Regions from separate parts of the Homo sapiens genome. Here region 1 is linked to region 2. Evidence: promoter capture Hi-C in human tissues and cell types (Jung and others, 2019). All regions are on one chromosome and are shown on one strand. The core of a region is centred on a gene start or on the middle of the fragment in contact, and the rest is flanking DNA. Distances in the headings are between cores, read along the strand shown. Region 1 holds the start of RBM39 (RNA binding motif protein 39). Region 2 holds the start of MAP1LC3A (microtubule associated protein 1 light chain 3 alpha).

Evidence for each region. The method cuts DNA at HindIII sites, captures the fragments that hold promoters and counts their contacts. A contact is called where the count stands out against the background at its distance.
Region 1: the fragment with the promoter of RBM39 here is called in contact with the fragment with the promoter of MAP1LC3A in region 2 in 1 of the 25 tissues and cell types used here (dorsolateral prefrontal cortex).

Annotation. Positions count from the first base shown.
Region 1 is chr20:35,740,571-35,745,407 of GRCh38, forward strand. RBM39 (RNA binding motif protein 39) reads right to left here and starts at 1,690. Exons shown (of 17, transcript NM_184234.3): 1 at 1,371-1,690; 2 at 254-317. The coding sequence starts at 304. RefSeq lists a silencer at 1,070-1,169 and enhancers at 1,430-1,579, 1,593-2,278, 1,640-1,859, 2,030-2,129. The HindIII fragment of the contact is 31,582 bases long and covers 1-4,837 here.
Region 2 is chr20:34,555,377-34,560,688 of GRCh38, forward strand. It overlaps MAP1LC3A (microtubule associated protein 1 light chain 3 alpha), which reads left to right and starts at 3,342. Exons shown (of 4, transcript NM_032514.4): 1 at 3,342-3,532; 2 at 3,832-3,887; 3 at 3,971-4,077; 4 at 4,360-4,969. The coding sequence starts at 3,493. The coding sequence ends at 4,522. It overlaps PIGU (phosphatidylinositol glycan anchor biosynthesis class U), which reads right to left. Exons shown (of 12, transcript NM_080476.5): 12 at 5,166-5,312. RefSeq lists silencers at 3,044-3,133, 3,474-3,523, 5,098-5,147. The HindIII fragment of the contact is 19,125 bases long and covers 1-5,312 here.

The DNA of each region.
Region 1 (4,837 bases), core at 440-2,939, 1.2 Mb after region 2:
GTAGAGGTGAGATATCGTTAGGCAAGTCTACAAAGAGAGATAGATGGGCATTTATTCATCACGCTGAAGTGAAACTACTGCACAATATTATTACATCAATAGCATATATTTACTTTTGTAAGTTACACGTAATGCATCTCTGATAAGATAAATCAAGAGGGCTCCGGGGAGGTTAGTTTACATTTCAGCAGTAGTTTCGTGAATAATGCTAAATTAAGAAATATATAAACCTCACCGACATGTTTTTTCTCACCTTCTTGTAAGGAGCCTCAAGCATTGCTTCAATATCAATATCGTCTGCCATTTTCTCTAAACGCCTAGGAAGAGAACAAGACAATTTCTTGAGTAAACATTTCTCTTACAATGTGAAACAAGTTTCACTCTTGTTGCCTATATCGTCTAACATTTTCTCTAAACGCCTAGGAAAAGAACAAGACGATTCCGTGAGTAAACATTTTTCTTTTTTTTTTTTTTTTTTTTTGAGACGGAGTTTCGCTCTAGTTGCCCAGGCTGAAGTGCAGTAGCGCGATCTCGGCTCACTGCAAGCTCCGCCTCCCAGGTTCCAGCGATCCTACCACCTCACCTCCCGAATAGCTGGGATCACAGGCGCCTGCCACCACGCCCGGCTAATTTTTGTATTTTTGGTAGAGACGGGGTTTCACCATGTTGATGAGGTTGGTCTCGAACTCCTAACCTCAAGTGATCCGCCTGCCTCTGCCTCCCAAACTGCTGGGATTACAGGCGTGAGCCACCGCGCCCGGCCTGGTAAACGTTTTTCAAATCGACTGAATTTTTCTTCTCAGCCGACACACTCGAAAACTTAAGAAAAACCTCCAAAAGCCCTACAATTAATGACTAAAGTGACATGCACTTTAACCAGGTTTGGCTTACGTAAGTAAATCCAAAACGCCTCTTACACGAAACACACGAAAATGAAGACTTCAATATCCAATATTTAAAACTCTGCTGTCAACTCCAAAAACAGAAACTGGGAGACCCGAACGAGAGCGCCTCTTTCCGGGCAAAAACCCGCGCTGCCATTTTAGGGGCAAAGAGAAACTCCCTCCATTGGGAGGGGTTATGAGCCAAGGCAGCGTTCAACTGGCGCCATGTTGGGAGGTCGCGGCCGGCCCAGGCCTCGAAGGAGACAGGTCACCATTCTACCGCGGCCTCTCGGGGGTCCCTACCGCCCCAAGAATCCAGACTATACCCGACTGGAAAATAAGGGCGCGGTCACTGAAACAGGGCCGATTTCTCGAAAACCACCCCCCACCCCGGTCGCTAAAGACCTCCAAAAGCGCCCCTCAGCCCAAAATGGAGCCAAACCTCGAGAAAGCTGAGATAATACGCGGGTCCGCAACGCCCCGTACCTGTTCCGGCCTTCGGGCGCCTGTGGTGCTCGTGTTCGGGAAGAGATTGCTGCTGCTGCTGCTGCTGCTGCCGCCGCCGCCGCTTCTGTTGCTACTGTTAAGCCCCTAGGCCCAGGCCGCGGAACCGCCCAGCCCGAATATCGGGTTCCAAGGACGGCTAGGCCCGAGAGAATCTAAAAAAAACAATGGAATTAGAGAAGCCCACGCGGGAGAGCAGGACGGCGGCTTCGGCAGCTCAGGATCCACCCCTGCGACAGCGTCGACAAGCTCCCTGAAATGGCGGCCGCTGCTTCCCTGTACTCACATTCACCAGCACACATACACACACACAAACACACGGGGCCTCACAGAGCCCTCAGCACGGGCTCTCGCGAGAAGCTGCCCCAAGCTCCAAATTTGAGCGGCCGAAGTATCGCGAGACCTAAGTATGGCTCCGGCGACCGTAGCCCAATCTCGCGCAATGATTGCGCCACAGATATTCCCATCCCCCATTCAGTGAGGCGCCTTTCACTCCCCCTCCGCGTAAGCACCCAAATCTCGCGAGACAGAGCGGGTCTCTAGGGCAAAGACAGTTGGTAGGCTGCCTGTCAATCTTTCAGAGAGCTCTTCGCTGAGTGGAGCTCAGCGGTCACCTCCCCCTCGTGGCGCCTCCTCACGGCCATCTGAAGATTCCTCCGGCACAGCCGATCGCCCCCGCTCCGGCCTCCCACACAGATGGCTGTCAAGGTCGCCATAAGGCAACCTAGTCCTTATGGCGATAGGATAAAACGGCCATATTCAGATTATCCGCTGAGGGTGGAGAGGAAGTGGAAAAGTGTATCAGAAGGCCAGAAGAAGAGATCTTTAGGGGTAGGGGGAGAGGGGGAGATAATAAAAATAGATTTCCCTGTCATTTGGAGCCAATGGCGCGGCCTCCACTGTCGAGCTTTGAAACAACCTTGGAAATAGTGGAGAAAAGCAAAAAAAAGGTGGAAAAAATAAACTCTTGCTTCCCTTGGCATGGGATCAGTTTTGTGCCCCGAATTTAATCAGCTCTTGTGTCAGGGTTGCTACCGTTCCTTCAAAAATGTTCCCCTTCCTGAATATTACTGGACGATTTGGTGAAAAAATAAGACACCCCCCCAACAAAAAAAAAAAGGCCCCCTTCCCCCTGGGACCTGGCTCCTCTCCCCTGAAGTCTTCTAGATGCCAGGTAATTAGAGTATGAATTAGCCATTTGTTCTTTGGTCAGTACTGTGTGAGGTTTCCTCCTAGATGCTGGGAAAAAAAACTGGAAAGAAGTCTTCAAAGCAAAAATCTTACCCTCTAATCTTAACAGTCTAATGATTGAGGGCAGAAAAGATTGGAAATGAGACGCCTTGATTAGTGTAACTAGCTGCTGCAACACTGTGTGACCTTGGACAAGCAAATTAACCTCTCAGAGGGGATCTTTCATTTCCTGATTTAAAAGAGGACGTACTTAGTAGCTAGTCTAAGCTACTTGAGACTGAGGAAGGCAGGTAATGCTCAGTACTGAATTTTTAGAGGTTAGCAGGGCATGTCTGCCCAAGTGGACCCTCAGTAAATTAATGAATGAAGGCTCAGAAGGGCTATAGTGAAGATTAAATGATATAATGTCTGTAAAACGCCTGGTAAATATTTGATCTTCAAAACAGCTAACTTCTGTTTCTGCTAAACAAAATTATTTAGAGCAAATATAGATGTTAAGTGGTTTTGCCTCTCAGGTTAACTTTACACACAGGTTAGGATTTATCTTAGAGGATTATTAATAACAGTTATTTTGTAGTTAGAATACTCCCTTAATCCTTTTTCTGAAAATTCAGATCCTCTTTTTATTTTATTTCTGAGACAGTCTCGCTCTGGAGGCTGGGCGCAGTGGCTCATGCATCTAATCCCAGCACTTTGGGAGGCCGACGCGGGTGGACCGCCTGAGGTCAGGAGTTCAAGACCTGACCAACATGGCGAAACCCTGTCTCTACTAAAAATAAAAAAAAAACTAGGTGGCAGGCGCCTGCAATTCCCAGCTACTCGGGAGGCTGAGGCAGGAGAATCACTTGAACCTGGGAGGCAGAGGTTGCAGTGAGCTGAGATCATGCCATTGCACTCCAGCCTGGGTGACAGAGATCGAGACTCCATCTCAAAAAAAAAAGAAAGAAAAAGAAAGAAAAGAAAACTGTCACAGGAAATTGAAGCATAATATGTCAGAAATAAAGCAAGCTAACCTTTGCTATCTCTTCCTGCCCCTCGGTAATTCCAGTATTATGACTAGTGCAAAATGAAAGCATGAAGATGGCACTTGGTTTTTCTTGTTTGTTTAGGAACATGACATGACAGAATTTGACCTTAACCGCTAGACTTCTTGTTTGGGAAGAGGAAGGATTTAAGCTCTAAGTCGCTTGATGATTTAAGGTCCCTTAAATAGTTTTCTGCTCAAGGACCATCAGAGGCAATATGGCAACTTAGCAGATCATCAAGAAAAGCCGTTTGGAAAAATCAAGTTTCTGAAACAAGTATTTTTTATGTTTAAAAGAAAATATCCCCAGGCATGGCGGCTCATGGCCTGTTATCCCAGCACTTTGAGAGGCCAAGGCAGGAGGATTGCTTGAGTCCAGGAGTTTGAGACCAGCCTGGACAATATAGCAAGACCCTGTCTCTACAAAAAATTTAAAATTAGCCAGACGTGGTGATGCATGTCTGTAGTTCCAACTACTCAGGAGGCTGAGATGGGAGGATAGCTTGGGCCCAGGACTTCAAGACTGCAGTCAGCTAGAATCACGTGCCACTTCACCCCAGCCTGGGCTGCAGAGCAAGACCCTGTCTCTTAACACAAAAGAAAATATCACGAACATAAGATGCTTCTCATTCACTTTACAAAACTTCACTAACTCTGGTTCATGAACTTTCTATGTAAATTAATTCCCCTTTCATCATTTTGCTTTCAAAAGATGGAGGAATAGAGCTTGAAATAGAGCCAAAAAGGTAATGAATATACTTAGAGAATTTGGCTGAAAACTAAATGTATTTTACCAATGTGGATTTTTAATTTTTTAATTATTAAGGGTACATTTTAAATGTATATGTTTATCAGATACATGTGGTTTGGTTTTGTTTTGTTTTTTGTCCCCAACAATCTACAGCAAGTAGAATTGTTTCGTTTTTTAATTGAGACAGGGTCTCACACTGTCCCACAGGCTGAAGTGCAGTGGCAACATCATAGATTACTGTAACCTTGCATTCCTGGGCTCAAGCAATCCTCCCAGCTCAGCCTCCCAATTAGCTAGAAAAACAAGTGCACATCACCATGCCCAGCTTAATTTTTTAAAAATTTTTTGGGCTGGGTGTGATGACTTACTCCTATAATCCCAGCACTTTGGGAGGCCGAGATAGGTGGATCACCTGAGATTGAGGGTTTGCAACCAGGCTGACCAACATAAAGAAACCCCGTCTCTACTAAAAATACAAAATTA
Region 2 (5,312 bases), core at 2,092-4,591:
TCAAGTGATCTGCCCACCTCAGCCTCCCAAAGTGTTGGGATTACAGGCGTGAGCCACTGTGCCTGGCCTAATTTTCTCATTTTTGTAGAGACGGGGTCTCACTATGTGGCCCAGGCTGGTCTCAAACTTCTGGGCTCAAATGATTTTCCAACCTGGGCCTCCCAAAGTGCTAGGATTACACTATTACTCCTTCTTAAATTTCTTTGAAACTCTGCTCATGGATTTTCTGTATTTATTATCTAAGTAATACATCTATGTAATAAGGCTATAAATCTGATTTTTTTTTTTTTTAAAGAAATGGATCTTATTTTGTCACCGAGGCTGGAATGCAGAGCTGCAATCACAGCTCACTGCAGCCTTGAACTCTTGGGCTCAAGCAATTCTCCAGTCTGGGCCCCCCAAAGTGCTGGGATTACAGGTATGAACCACCACACCTGGCCTGCCATGGCCCCCCTCCCAAGTTTTCTTTCTTTTTTTTTTTTTTTTGATGGAGTCTCGCTCTGTCGCCCAGGCTGGAGTGCAGTGGCGCGATCTCCATTTACTGCAAGCTCCGCCTCCCAGGTTCGAGCCATTCTCCTGCCTCAGCCTCCCGAGTAGCTGGAACTACAGGCGCCCGCCACCACGCCCAGCTAATTTTTTGTATTTTTAGTAGAGACGGGGTTTCACCATGTTAGCCAGGATGGTCTCGATCTCCTGACCTCGTGATCCGCCTGCCTTGGCCTCCCAAAGTGCTGGGATTACAGGCGTGAGCCACTGCGCCCGGCCACCAAGTTTTCTTAGCATATGTATCCTCATTTTTTGTTTGAACTAAATAATTTTTATTTATATATGACTTCATATTTAGAATAGGTTTAAATTTCCACACAGCTGGAGCTTACGCGGCTTTTGTCTGTGGCCAAAGAATATGGTTGAAACTGATTTGATATCTGTTGAGATTTGTCGTGCACCCTAGTAGTTGGGTCATTTTTGTAAATGTTCCTTGTGTGATTGAAAATAATGTGTTGGTCTCACACAGGTCTGAAATTTAAATTTTAAAAGTTAAAAAACTAACTGTCAGGTTTTCTATTGGGGTTCATTGATCTTGATTAGTAACTGTATTAACATCCTCTATGTCCTTTTTTTTTTGGTTGTTTGGTTTATTAGTTACTCAAAGAGGTCTTATGTCTCCCTATGATGGAGGACCTGGCAATTTCTCCTTGTGTTCTTAATATATTTTCAGCCTCTTTTTTTTTTTTTTCGAGACAGAGTCTCACTCTGTTGCCCAGGCTGGAGGGCAGTGGCGCAATCTCAGCTCACTGCAACCTCCGCCTAGCAGGTTCAAGCAATTCTTGTGCCTCAGCCACCTGAGTAGTTGGGATGACAGGCGTGCACCACCACGCCCAGCTAGCTAATCTTTGTATTTTTAGTAGAGACAGAGTTTTGCCATGTTGGCCAGGCTGGTCTTGAATTCCCAGCCTCTAGTGATCCACCCACCTCGGCCTCCCAAAGTGCTGGGATTACTGGCATGAGCCACTGCGCCTGGCCTATTTTCAGCCTTAAAAACAAAAACCCTGGAACATAGAAGTTCAGAACTTTCCTCTCTTCACAGAGTTCCTCCTCGCATCATTTCATGTTGATCCTCTTATCCCCAGTGTCTTCTGCCTGAAGGCCTATTTTGTCTGAGTTTTCTATAGGTACATCTTTTGGTTAGTTTTTCTCTAGTACACCTTTTCCCATCGTTTTACTTTTTGGTGCCCTTAGGTTTTAAATTTCCTCTTGTAAATAGCATAGAGCTGCATCTTATTTTTTCTTGGCCAATCTGGTCATCTGTGTTTTAAGAGGTGAATGTAAACCACATTTTCTACCTCTGGTTTTGTACTATATATTTACCATCCCTTTTACTTTGCTTCCTTTTTCTCCCTTTCTGCCTTCCATTATAGTTTTAATACCCATCACTACCCTTTTCTCTGCATTGGCAGTTATAGTTCCGTTTGTATTCTTTTGGTGATCCTCTTAAATATCTGAAATACACACCTGACTTTACAAAGCCAGACAATGCTCAGTCTCTTTAACCCCCTCTCAAATTGCCCTCTCAGTCTTCCATGTTCTTGTGTCTCATGCATCTTGTTTCTGTGGCCCACAAATTAATCATTATTATTCATATTGCATATTAAATGCTTGTTTAGATTCACATGTTTACCAATTTGCTCACCATTTTTCCATCTAATTTCTTCCTTTTGGGTTCCATGTCCTTGTTACTAAACTACATTCTTTAAAAATTATTTCGGCGGCCAGGCGTGGTGGCTCACACCTGTAATCCCAGCACTTTGGGAGGCCGAGGCGAGTGGATCACGAGGTCAGGAGATCGAGACCATCCTGGCCAACATGGTGAAACTCCATCTCTACTAAAAATACAATAATTAGCTGGGGGTGGTGGCAGGCGCCTGTAATCCCAGCTACTGAGGAGGCTGACTGAGGCAGGAGAATCGCTTGAACCCGGGAGGCAGAGGTTGCAGTGAGCTGAGATCGCACCACTGCACCCCAGCCTGGCGACAGAACGAGACTTCGTCCCCCTCCCCCCTCCCCCAAAAAAATGTTGATCTTCAGTCTGCGCATTCTGCTCTGGATTTTAAGCATCATTTCTGGCAGCTCTTTTTCAGGAACTGTCTCTGCAGGTCTTTCAGTGTTCGCCTCTGGAGCTCTGCTCGGGCCCGCGAGTTCTCCTGGCGTTGCCATCTGTGCCCTTTTCCTTATTCCCCATCACCTGTCTCTCTGGTGAGCTGCTTCCGATCAGCCTCCAGGTCCACGATTTCTCTTCTGTTGTCCTTTTCTGCCTTCTCACCTCATCCTCTGAGACCTGAATTTCGATGGCTCTACTTTTCAATTATATTATTCTTTTTCAAACCTGGGCGTTCATTTCTAGCATCCTGTTCTATCCTGTGTCTGACTGTGCCTCCCGCACCTTCTCCCTTCTCTCGCCCTAAGCCCCGTGAAGGCGCCGGGCCTTTGGCTCCGGCTGTTTCCCACGGCGCCCAGAACCGCGTCAGTCCTGACACAGACTCGGTGAGGGCGGGAAGTGGTGCCGTGGGGCTGCAGCCTGGCCCGCCCGCTCCATCGGCCTAGGGCGGCCCCACCGCCCTCCGGGCCTTACCTTGAGTTCGGGCTGCGGGAGAAGCTCCCGCGCTGCCCATGACGTCACGGGACTGTGACGCGCCCAGAAGCCCCGCCCCTCGCGTCCCGGTCCGCGGACCCAGGCTCTCTGCGCCGTGACGTCACGGGTCCGGGCGGGCGGGTTGTGCGTCGGCCCAATGGGAGCGGCGCACTGGCCTCCCCTTTAAGGAATGTTGTGACCTGACGTCACCGGGCGAGTTACCTCCCGCAGCCGCAGCCGCCGTGCTCAGCGCGAGCCCCGGAGCCCTTGAGCGCGAGGCGCGGAGCCCCCGGAGCCCCCAAACCGCAGACACATCCCCGCGCCCCAGAGCCCCGGCCTGCGCGCCCAGCCGGGCCCGCGCGATGCCCTCAGACCGGCCTTTCAAGCAGCGGCGGAGCTTCGGTGAGGCCCGGCAGGCGAGCTGCGAGCTCTGGGGCAGGGGTGCCGGCCGACCCCGACTGCCGCAGGTGACGTCAGCCCCGTGACGTCAGGCTCTGGCTGGACCCTCGGGCTGGGACCAGCTCCGGCCTGGGCGGGGGCTGCCCGCTTCCCCACCGCGATAGGTGCCAGGGGCTGTGGGGCCTGATGGCCCCGGGGGTGGGGGCTGGAGCTGGGGCGTGGCCGGGGGCCGCCCCTCCGGGACAGGCGGGGCGGACCTGGGCCGGCCCGACCCGGCCTCACGGTCTGGCCGCTGTCCGCAGCCGACCGCTGTAAGGAGGTACAGCAGATCCGCGACCAGCACCCCAGCAAAATCCCGGTGAGTCCCGCACCCCCAGCCCTGCCCCGCCCCCGCCTCGCGCGTTCCCGACACGACCCCCTGCCCGCCCGCCCTGCTCCCAGGTGATCATCGAGCGCTACAAGGGTGAGAAGCAGCTGCCCGTCCTGGACAAGACCAAGTTTTTGGTCCCGGACCATGTCAACATGAGCGAGTTGGTCAAGATCATCCGGTGCGTGGGCAGCCGCCGCCAGGAGGTGGCTAGGGTCGGGAGGGGAGCCGGGTTCCCGCCGAGAAGGGGTGGGAGTGGGGTCAGGGGTGATGGGACCGGGCGGTGGGCCCCTGTTCTGGGGTGGCTGGAAAGGTCAAGGTCGGGGCTGCAGTCGGTGTTGGGTCAGAGGTGACAGCTGGGGTGAGAATGGGTGTGAAAGGCTGGGAATCATTCTGGGGGTCAGGGCTATGTCCGTCCCGCAGCCAAGCCCCTCACAGCTGCATACTCTCCCGCCGGCTGCAGGCGCCGCCTGCAGCTGAACCCCACGCAGGCCTTCTTCCTGCTGGTGAACCAGCACAGCATGGTGAGTGTGTCCACGCCCATCGCGGACATCTACGAGCAGGAGAAAGACGAGGACGGCTTCCTCTATATGGTCTACGCCTCCCAGGAAACCTTCGGCTTCTGAGCCAGCAGTAGGGGGGCTCGGCCTGGGAGTCGGGCGGCCCCGGTCAGGCCCTGCCCAGAGAGCTCCTGGTTCCTGAACTGAGCTGCCTCTACCGTGGTGGGCTGGGCAGGCATGTGCCCCCCTAGTCAGAGGGCACCAACCCACCTACTCTGCCCCTGGGTGGATCCTGGGCCGGTCGTGTTAGGGTTGTCCCTCTGGGTGCTGGCTGGTGGGATGGGGGAGGGTGGGGAGCAGCTCCCAGCACCCCTGCTGTGTGGTTCATCTTTTTTTTAGGCCCCTGCCTGTCTGCCCATCTGCCCCTCACCCACCCGAGGCTCTGCCCACCGCCTGGACCTGCCCACCCCTGAAAGACTGGCCCCTGGCTCCCCGCCCCTCGGTCTCCACGTGGTGTATGGATCTGTGGTCATTGTCCCTCTGCAGAATAAAGATTGCTCAGGCCTGCCTGGCCCTGTGCCTCCAGCCGCTTGCTTGGGAGTGGGGAGGGTGCTGGTGGGGCTGCCCGCACCATCCCCGGGCTCTGGCGCACAGACTTGTGTTCTGTGGCCGCGGTGCTCGCTCTGGAAACCCACACCTGTGTGTAGTGTTCCAGAACATTATTAGGGGCCACCCCCTCTAGGAGTGCAATGCAGATGTGGTCTCAGGGTAGACTTCATAACAAAAAACATTTATTAAGTAGCCACAATCTAACAAGCCCTGCTCACCTGCCTCTTCTCCTTCCTGTCTGGGAGGGGGCTCCTTGGTGTGCAGAGCCACAAGGTGGGGGTCCAAGTTGGGGAGCTCCCAGTTCTTC